2 separate regions of the Homo sapiens genome follow, and region 1 is linked to region 2. Evidence: promoter capture Hi-C in human tissues and cell types (Jung and others, 2019). All regions are on one chromosome and are shown on one strand. Each heading gives the region's core, a stretch centred on a gene start or on the middle of the fragment in contact. The rest is flanking DNA. Distances are from core to core; before and after follow the strand shown.

Region 1 (4,224 bases), core at 1,541-4,040, 440 kb after region 2:
ACCTCGTGATCCACCCGTCTCGGCCTCCCAAAATGCTGGCATTACAGGCGTGAGCCACCGCACCCAGCCTTAAATTTTTTTTTAAGGGAAATCAAACCCAGTGATATTGGGCCAGTACAGTGGCTCACACCTGTAATTCCACCACTTTGGGAGGCTGAGGCAGGTGAATCACCTGAGGTCAGGAGTTCGAGACCAGCCCGGCAAACATGGCGAAACCCCGTCTCTACTAAAAATAAGAAAATTAGCCGGGCGTAGTGGCATGCACCTGTAATCTCAGCTACTCGGGAAGCTGAGGCATGAGAATCGCTTGAACCTGGGAGCAGGATGTTGCAGTGAACCGATATCACACCACTGCACTCCAGCCTGGGTGACAGAGCAAGACTCTGTCTCAAAAAAAAAAAGAAAAAAAAATCCAGTGATACTTACTTTTTAAATTTTTATTTACTTATTTTTTGCTTTAAGTTGAATCTTTAAACTTATCTTTATTTTTGAGACACAGTCTCACTCTGTCGCCCAGGCTGGAGTGCAGTGGTACAACCACAGCTCAGTGCAGCGTTGACCTCCTGGGCTCAAGCCATCCTCCCGCCTCAGCCTCCCGAGTAGCTGGGACTACAGGCGCACACAACCATGTCCAGCTTATTTTTGTATTTTTTGTAGAGACAGGGTCCCACTGTGTTGCCCTGGCTTGTTCTGAACTCCTAGGCTCAAGTGATCCCCCCGCCTCACCCTCCCAAAGTGCTGGGATTACAGGCATGAGCCACCACATCCAGACTTCACTTTTTTGTTTAATGTCGCAAATGGCATAAGGAATGGGATTCAATGGGGACACATTTATAAACGTTGCAGCAGCTCCTAGAACTTGCCTATCCTTGTAAACTTCTCTAGGTGATTGCTAATTACTTCTTTTTTTTTTTTTTTTTTTGAGACGGAGTCTCACTCTGTCGCCCAGGCTGGAGTACAGTGGCGCAATCTCGTCTCACTGCAAACTCCACCTCCCGGGTTCACGCCATTCTCCTGCCTCAGCCTCCCGAGTAGCTGGGACTACAGGCACCCGCCACCACGCCCGGCTAATTTTTTGTATTTTTTTTTAGTAGAGGTGGGGTTTCACTGTGTTATCCAGGATGGTCTTGATCTCCTGACCTCGTGATCCACCTGCCTCAGCCTCCCAAAGTGCTGGGATTACAGGCGTGAGCCACCATGCCCAGCCCGCTAATTATTTCAATTTGACCTTGACACTGAGCCTGCCAAGTAGGTTCAAGCATTTTGATGGCCCCTTTACAGGTTGGGAAAGCTAATTTATCTGTCCAAGGCCGAATTCTGAAACTGAGTCTTAACTGCCAAAAATTCTTATCATCAATTTCTTCTTCTGGGTTGGGCACAGTGGCTCATGCCTGTAAAGCCAGCAATTTGAGAGGCATCATGATGCAAGAGGAAGAGGATTGAGTGAAGCTAGGAGTTTGGGACCAGCCTGGGCAACATAGTGAGACCCCATCTATAAAAAAAAATTAAAAATTAGTTGGGCATGGTGGTGCACTCCTGTGGTCCTAGCTATTCAGGAGGCTGAGGTGGGAGGATTCCTTGAGCCCAGGGTTGACGCTGCAGAGAGCTGTGATCACGCCACTGCAGTCCAGCCTGAGTGACAGCTGGAAATAATGATAAATAAATAATAAATAATTATTTAAAAAATTATAATAAAAATAATTAAAAAATTATTTTCCCTGATTAATCTTTTTTTTTGTCCTTCTGAGAGTTCAATTTGTCCCTTTTCTGCCTGGTCTCCTAGGTTTCCCTAAAATCCTGCTGAGAGGTTAGCACTGCCTGCCAAAGTCAGTTTGCAAAATCCCAGAGAAATCCAGCTTATTCCTGGGGGAACCGCCAAGACTGCCCAGCCCTGTGTGGGGTTCAGGCAAGTTTCTCACATGTGCCTTTTTGGCAAGAGGCCTCTGGCAACCCCATGAGTCCCCAAAGAGACTCAATTCTAAAAGTTGGTCTCCACCAGCTCTCTGTGGCTTAGGGGTTCAAGTTCAACTGTGAAAGCCCTGTTTTGTTTTGATTTTGCTTTGAGGGAGAGGAAACCGCCCTTCTGTTTGTTCAACTCCTTCTCCTAAGGGGAGAAATCAATATTTACGTCCAGACTCCAGGTATCCGTACAATTGATTTTTCAGATGTTTATACTCAGCCAAAGGCGGGATCCCACAAAACAAAAAATATTTTTTTGGCTGTACTTTTGTGAAGATTTTATTTAAATTCCTGATTGATCAGTGTCTATTAGGTGATTTGGAATAACAATGTAAAAACAATATACAACGAAAGGAAGCTAAAAATCTATACACAATTCCTAGAAAGGAAAAGGCAAATATAGAAAGTGGCGGAAGTTCCCAACATTTTTAGTGTTTTCCTTTTGAGGCAGAGAGGACAATGGCATTAGGCTATTGGAGGATCTTGAAAGGCTGTTGTTATCCTTCTGTGGACAACAACAGCAAAATGTTAACAGTTAAACATCGAGAAATTTCAGGAGGATCTTTCAGAAGATGCGTTTCCAATTTTGAGGGGGCGTCAGCTCTTCACCGGAGACCCAAATACAACAAATCAAGTCGCCTGCCCTGGCGACACTTTCGAAGGACTGGAGTGGGAATCAGAGCTTCACGGGTTAAAAAGCCGATGTCACATCGGCCGTTCGAAACTCCTCCTCTTGCAGTGAGGTGAAGACATTTGAAAATCACCCCACTGCAAACTCCTCCCCCTGCTAGAAACCTCACATTGAAATGCTGTAAATGACGTGGGCCCCGAGTGCAATCGCGGGAAGCCAGGGTTTCCAGCTAGGACACAGCAGGTCGTGATCCGGGTCGGGACACTGCCTGGCAGAGGCTGCGAGCATGGGGCCCTGGGGCTGGAAATTGCGCTGGACCGTCGCCTTGCTCCTCGCCGCGGCGGGGACTGCAGGTAAGGCTTGCTCCAGGCGCCAGAATAGGTTGAGAGGGAGCCCCCGGGGGGCCCTTGGGAATTTATTTTTTTGGGTACAAATAATCACTCCATCCCTGGGAGACTTGTGGGGTAATGGCACGGGGTCCTTCCCAAACGGCTGGAGGGGGCGCTGGAGGGGGGCGCTGAGGGGAGCGCGAGGGTCGGGAGGAGTCTGAGGGATTTAAGGGAAACGGGGCACCGCTGTCCCCCAAGTCTCCACAGGGTGAGGGACCGCATCTTCTTTGAGACGGAGTCTAGCTCTGTCGCCCAGGATGGAGTGCAGTGGCACGATCTCAGCTCACTGCAACCTCCGCCTCCCGGGTTTAAGCGAGTCTCCTCTCTCAGCCTCCCGAATAGCTGGGATTACAGGCGCCCAACCACCACGCCCGCCTAATTTTTGTATTTTTAGTAGAGACGGGTTTTCACCATTTTGGCCAGGCTGGTCTCGAACCCCGACCTCAGGTGATCTGCCCAAAAGTGCTGGGATTACAGGCGTCAGCCACCGCGCCCGGCCGGGACCCTCTCTTCTAACTCGGAGCTGGGTGTGGGGACCTCCAGTCCTAAAACAAGGGATCACTCCCACCCCCGCCTTAAGTCCTTCTGGGGGCGAGGGCGACTGGAGACCCGGATGTCCAGCCTGGAGGTCACCGCGGGCTCAGGGGTCCCGATCCGCTTTGCGCGACCCCAGGGCGCCACTGCCATCCTGAGTTGGGTGCAGTCCCGGGATTCCGCCGCGTGCTCCGGGACGGGGGCCACCCCCTCCCGCCCCTGCCCCCGCCCCTTTGGCCCGCCCCCCGAATTCCATTGGGTGTAGTCCAACAGGCCACCCTCGAGCCACTCCCCTTGTCCAATGTGAGGCGGTGGAGGCGGAGGCGGGCGTCGGGAGGACGGGGCTTGTGTACGAGCGGGGCGGGGCTGGCGCGGAAGTCTGAGCCTCACCTTGTCCGGGGCGAGGCGGATGCAGGGGAGGCCTGGCGTTCCTCCGCGGTTCCTGTCACAAAGGCGACGACAAGTCCCGGGTCCCCGGAGCCGCCTCCGCGACATACACGAGTCGCCCTCCGTTATCCTGGGCCCTCCTGGCGAAGTCCCCGGTTTCCGCTGTGCTCTGTGGCGACACCTCCGTCCCCACCTTGTCCTGGGGGGCGCCCTCGCCCCACCAGCCCCGATCAAGTTCACAGAGGGGCCCCCGGCCACCCTCAAGGCCTCGGTTCCTTACGAGGTTGAAACGTTGCCTCAGAATCTCCCCGCCCCTCCTTGGTC
Region 2 (4,249 bases), core at 398-2,897:
ACCCAGTTAATTTTTCTATTTTTAGTGGAGACGGTGTTTCACCATGTTGGCCAGGCTGGTCTCAAACTCCTGACCTCAAGTGATCCGCCCACCTCAGCTTCCCAAAGTGCTGGGATTACAAGCGTGAGCCACCACGCCCAGCCAGGAAACCCATTTTCAACACCTCCTTGCTCTTTTTTTTTTCTGAGACAGAGTCTCGCTCTGTCGCCCAGACTGGAGTGCAGTGGCGCAATCTCGGCTCACTGCAACCTCCGCCTGCCAGGTCAAACAATTCTCCTGCCTCAGCCTCCCAAGTAGGTGGGACTACAGGCATGTGCCACCACACCCGGCTAATTTTCTTTTGTATTTTTAGTAGAGACGGGGTTTCACCATGCTGGCCAGGCTGGTCTCGAACTCCTGACCTCGTGATCCGCCCGCCTCGGCCTCCCAAAGTGCTGGGATTACAAACGTGAGCCACCGCGCCTGGCCTTCCTTGCTCTTCTTGCTCCAAATCCTGGGAACGTCTGAATCAACAGGCGGACATCTGTCAAACCTTCCTAGCAACTACGCCTGCGGATGGCCAACCTGACCCTGGAAGACAGTGGGGTTTAGTTAAGCACAGATTGTACATCGGGGGCCTCATAAGGCGCCTGGAAGCATTCAAGAACACCACGCTTGTAAGGACAAAGCACTCGGTCACGGGCGCCTTTACTTCGGAGCTCCGCGCTGCTGCTGGACGAGCGTCCGTTGAGTCCCAGCCCCAATTTTTCCAGGAAATGGCGGTGAGCCCTCTAGTGAGATATTTTTTGGCCTGGGCCTCAGTTTCTCCATCTGTCAATGGGGGAAGGGGAAGGCGGGCTAGAGGACCCCGACCAGGTCGGCTGCAGCCTTCGGAAGCTACGGCCCAGGGACGCCACACCAAGGCAGGTCTGCGGGACGAAAGAACCCAAGAACCCGGGCGCGCATTGGCGCCGGTCCCGGGCTCAAGGGGCAGCAACGAGGAGACGCTGGACCTGGCCGTTCCTCGCACACATCTCTAACCTTCTGTGCCTCTCAAGGGAGATGGGGTGAGCATAGCCACCTCCACTGGAGCCCGAAAATCCCCGGCCGAGATACCGCCACTAAAAAGGTACACATGCGTCAAAGCCTCTCGGAGCCATTTCCGCTAACGTACTCAGGGCGACGGGCGTAAGATGGCGGCCGCGCAGGCGCAAAATGTCGCAGCCGTAGGGAGGCTCCGCCTCTGACGCTTGCCTTGCATCACGTGGTAATGGCCGCTCAAAAAACGCCTTAGCGAAAACCAGAGCGTGCCCTCGTCACGTGATGGAGGACTCCCAGTACGGCAAAGGGAAGGCGCCAAAAGTTGTCAGATGGCGAAGGAAACCGCGAAATTCGCCATTGTCACATGATGGAGCAACCTATCGAAAGCGGAGGGAAAGGTGCCGAAGTCACGTGACTACGCACGCAAACACTCCCGCTTGCACCACGTGCAACTCACGCCCACCCCCTCAGCCCCCCCCTTATCTCTTTTCGCCCCTCCCTCCCATTTGGGTTGGGCCTGCGTCGAGGCGCAACGCGGCGTCAAAGGGGGCGGGGCTTCAGCCGGTCACGTGTTCCCGCACCTCCCCGGCGCGCGCCTGCCCGCCCGCCCGCTCGCCCCCGGTCCGGACTCCTCCTCCTCCTCTTCTCGCCATTGCAGTTGGACCCAGCAGCCCGGCGCGCACCGCGTGGCTTTTGGGGGCAGACCCCGGCGGGCTGTGGCAGGAGGGCGGCGGCGGCGGCTGCGGTCGAAGAAGGGGACGCCGACAAGGTAAGCGTCAATGTGGCGGCGGCCGGGCCCGCTCCCGCCTCTGCCCCTCCCCCCGCCCGCCCTCAGTGAGATCCCCACTGAGGGTTCGCGGTGACAAGGCTGGAGGGATCCCACGCTCGCCGCCTCCGCCCGGTTCCCTCATCCCGGCGCCTGGCCCGTTCCTCCCTTGCCGGCCTCGCTCCCGCGCTCGGCCGTTAACTCTCTTCCATTGTGCGGAGGAAACAAAATGGCGGCTGCGGCGGCGGCGAGGACTCGGTGCGCGCGCAGCCGCTCCCCCCCGCACGCGGCCCCTCGGCCGGCGGCGGCGCCACGCGCGGGGGGGTGCGCGCGCACCGGGCCCCCGGCTGCCGCCTCCCCGCGGCTGGGCTTTTGTCTGTTGCGGGGGTCCTGGGGACGCGCGCACGTGCTTGGAGCACACACCCCCTCGGGTCCCGAGTTCCGCGGCGGGGCGACCCCCCTTCCTCACTCCTTCCCTACCCCCTCCTCCTCTTTGTCCCGGTCCCGCCCCCGATTCCAGGAGAGTCCCAGGTTCCCGAGGCGGGAAAAGTCGCCTCCTTTGTCCTCACAGGTCGCGGAGAGGCGGACCCCCTCCTTGGAAGCCCCTTCCCACGCGGATTGCTGAGGAAGCCTTTGTGGGTTCGTCGGGTTTCCAAATCTCTGGTCAGCCAGGCCTCTCTCAGATCAGGGTCAAAACTTGAGAGGGTTTCAGCTTTTTCTTTAGTTAGTTTGTTTTCATTGTTGAATGTTTTTCCAGATTGTTAGTATTTGCCTTCTCTAGACCGGCAATCTACTTGGGTGCAAGCCTGGGCCCCGAAACGTGGATGCTTAAAACCCATTTCTACCTTTATTTTCTCAAGTAGTTGAACGATTGAGATTCTCGAGGTTACTCATGAGGTTCTGCCCCAGTTAATTCACCGCCTGGATGAATTATTTGGGGTGTACGGCGGTCTGCATGCTCCTCCCCCAGTTCAGTGGCCAAATTTGAGGAGAATGAGGGATCTCTTCTCCACATTTCCAACATTGTTTGCCAGTTGCTGCTTAGGTGACATGGATCAGCAACGAAGCGTCGGTTTCAGTGGTTTCTTTTTCTGGACTCCGGTAATTCACTGCTGCTGAATCTTTTTCAAGATTTTGCTCTCTTTAAAATGAGTGGTGTGATGGCATATTTGTGGTCCACATGGAATCGCGAGGTGCCATCCGAAGTTAGGATTCAAATTTAGGACTTTAAGCTCTCTTTTCCTCAGGTATTTGTGGATGGGAATCTCCATGGATTGCTCAGAGTGCTGCCACTGTCCCTTGTGCGTGATGCTTTGTGTGTGGTCTCGTGGGATGTAGTTACAGTAGCCGCCCAGACTGTGAATGAAGTGTGGGAACCAGGGCCTCATTCACAGCTGGAAAGCAGGAGGAGGCCGCAGGACATTGGCAGGTGCTCCTCTCCCTGTTCCGTGGTGCTGGGGCCCCTTGCTTATGTGGGTGGCTCTTGGTCCCTGGGATTTGTGAATGGAGTCTGCAGGCCCCAGTGTTGTCTGGAATATTCTTTAGTTCAGATTGGAGGCTAGCAATGACTGCCAGGCTTGGCCTTGCCGCCACTGGGCGCTATTTATCACTCTCCCTATCTTCCTGGAGCTTAGCCGAGTCTTCCTGGAGCTGAGAGGTGCCTAATTGTTTGTGGTTTTTCTGATTGAACTTGTTTGGTGCCTCTAGGCAAAAATTCCTTTGGCTCCTTCTAGTATTTTCAGGGTCTTGAAGGCCCATATTCCTGAGCATGAGGAATCTAAGTCTGTTATTTTTTCCTAAATTTTCATGTTAAATACCACGTTGACAAAGGACAGCTGCTAATATTTTGATCACACAGATACAGACGGTGCTCCCTGGTTAAGGCCTCCAGGTAGGGGACAGGTAGAGTCAGTGATGGGGAAGAAGCCTTCTGTAAGTCCCTTTCCTTTGGGTAGACAGTAGATTACCCTTTAGGCTTTAGCAAGATGTGGGGGTTAGAAGTCTTCTATTCTTGGAAAAGCCTTTAGTCGTTTTCTTTGGGCTGGGGCCTCTTCTCTTAGGGACTGCTGTCACCCTTTCTCGGTTTCTTTTGATTACCTTTCATGGCCCCAGAGGAGTGATCCCTTCCCTTATTTATACCTCTTGGACTTGTCATCCTGCTACATTTTGTCAGCAAGTTAATTCACCTTGTGCAGTTTTGAAAGATGTGTAAGTGTTAACATTTAGTATTAGCATTTATGGCCCAGGAAATTGTGACCTTAATATTTGAATCTTGCTTTTATTAAACCTTTACAGGAACTAGGATTTTGTAGGGTTTTTTTTTTTTTTTTTTTTTTGAGTTAGAGTTTAGCTCTTGTTGCCCAGGCTGGAGTGCAATGGCGCGATCTCGGCTCACCGCAACCTCCACCTCCCGAGTTCAAGCGATTCTCCTGCCTCAGCCTCCCGAGTAGCTGGAATTACAGG

What was found. Contacts are between HindIII fragments. The study calls those that stand out against the background at their distance.
Region 1: a contact is called between the fragment with the promoter of LDLR here and the fragment with the promoter of ILF3 in region 2, in 1 of the 25 tissues and cell types used here (pancreas).

The regions. Positions count from the first base shown.
Region 1 is chr19:11,086,673-11,090,896 of GRCh38, forward strand. It overlaps LDLR (low density lipoprotein receptor), which reads left to right and starts at 2,791. Exons shown (of 18, transcript NM_000527.5): 1 at 2,791-2,943. The coding sequence starts at 2,877. LDLR-AS1 (LDLR antisense RNA 1) reads right to left here and starts at 2,987. Exons shown (of 1, transcript NR_163945.1): 1 at 2,396-2,987. RefSeq lists enhancers at 3,045-3,640, 3,641-4,224, 3,952-4,131 and a silencer at 3,622-3,881. The HindIII fragment of the contact is 22,999 bases long and covers 1-4,224 here.
Region 2 is chr19:10,652,699-10,656,947 of GRCh38, forward strand. ILF3 (interleukin enhancer binding factor 3) reads left to right here and starts at 1,648. Exons shown (of 20, transcript NM_017620.3): 1 at 1,648-1,789. ILF3-DT (ILF3 divergent transcript) reads right to left here and starts at 1,174. Exons shown (of 1, transcript NR_024333.1): 1 at 1-1,174. RefSeq lists enhancers at 1-158, 159-660, 526-695, 936-1,405 and silencers at 1,496-1,735, 1,816-1,975. The HindIII fragment of the contact is 14,146 bases long and covers 1-4,249 here.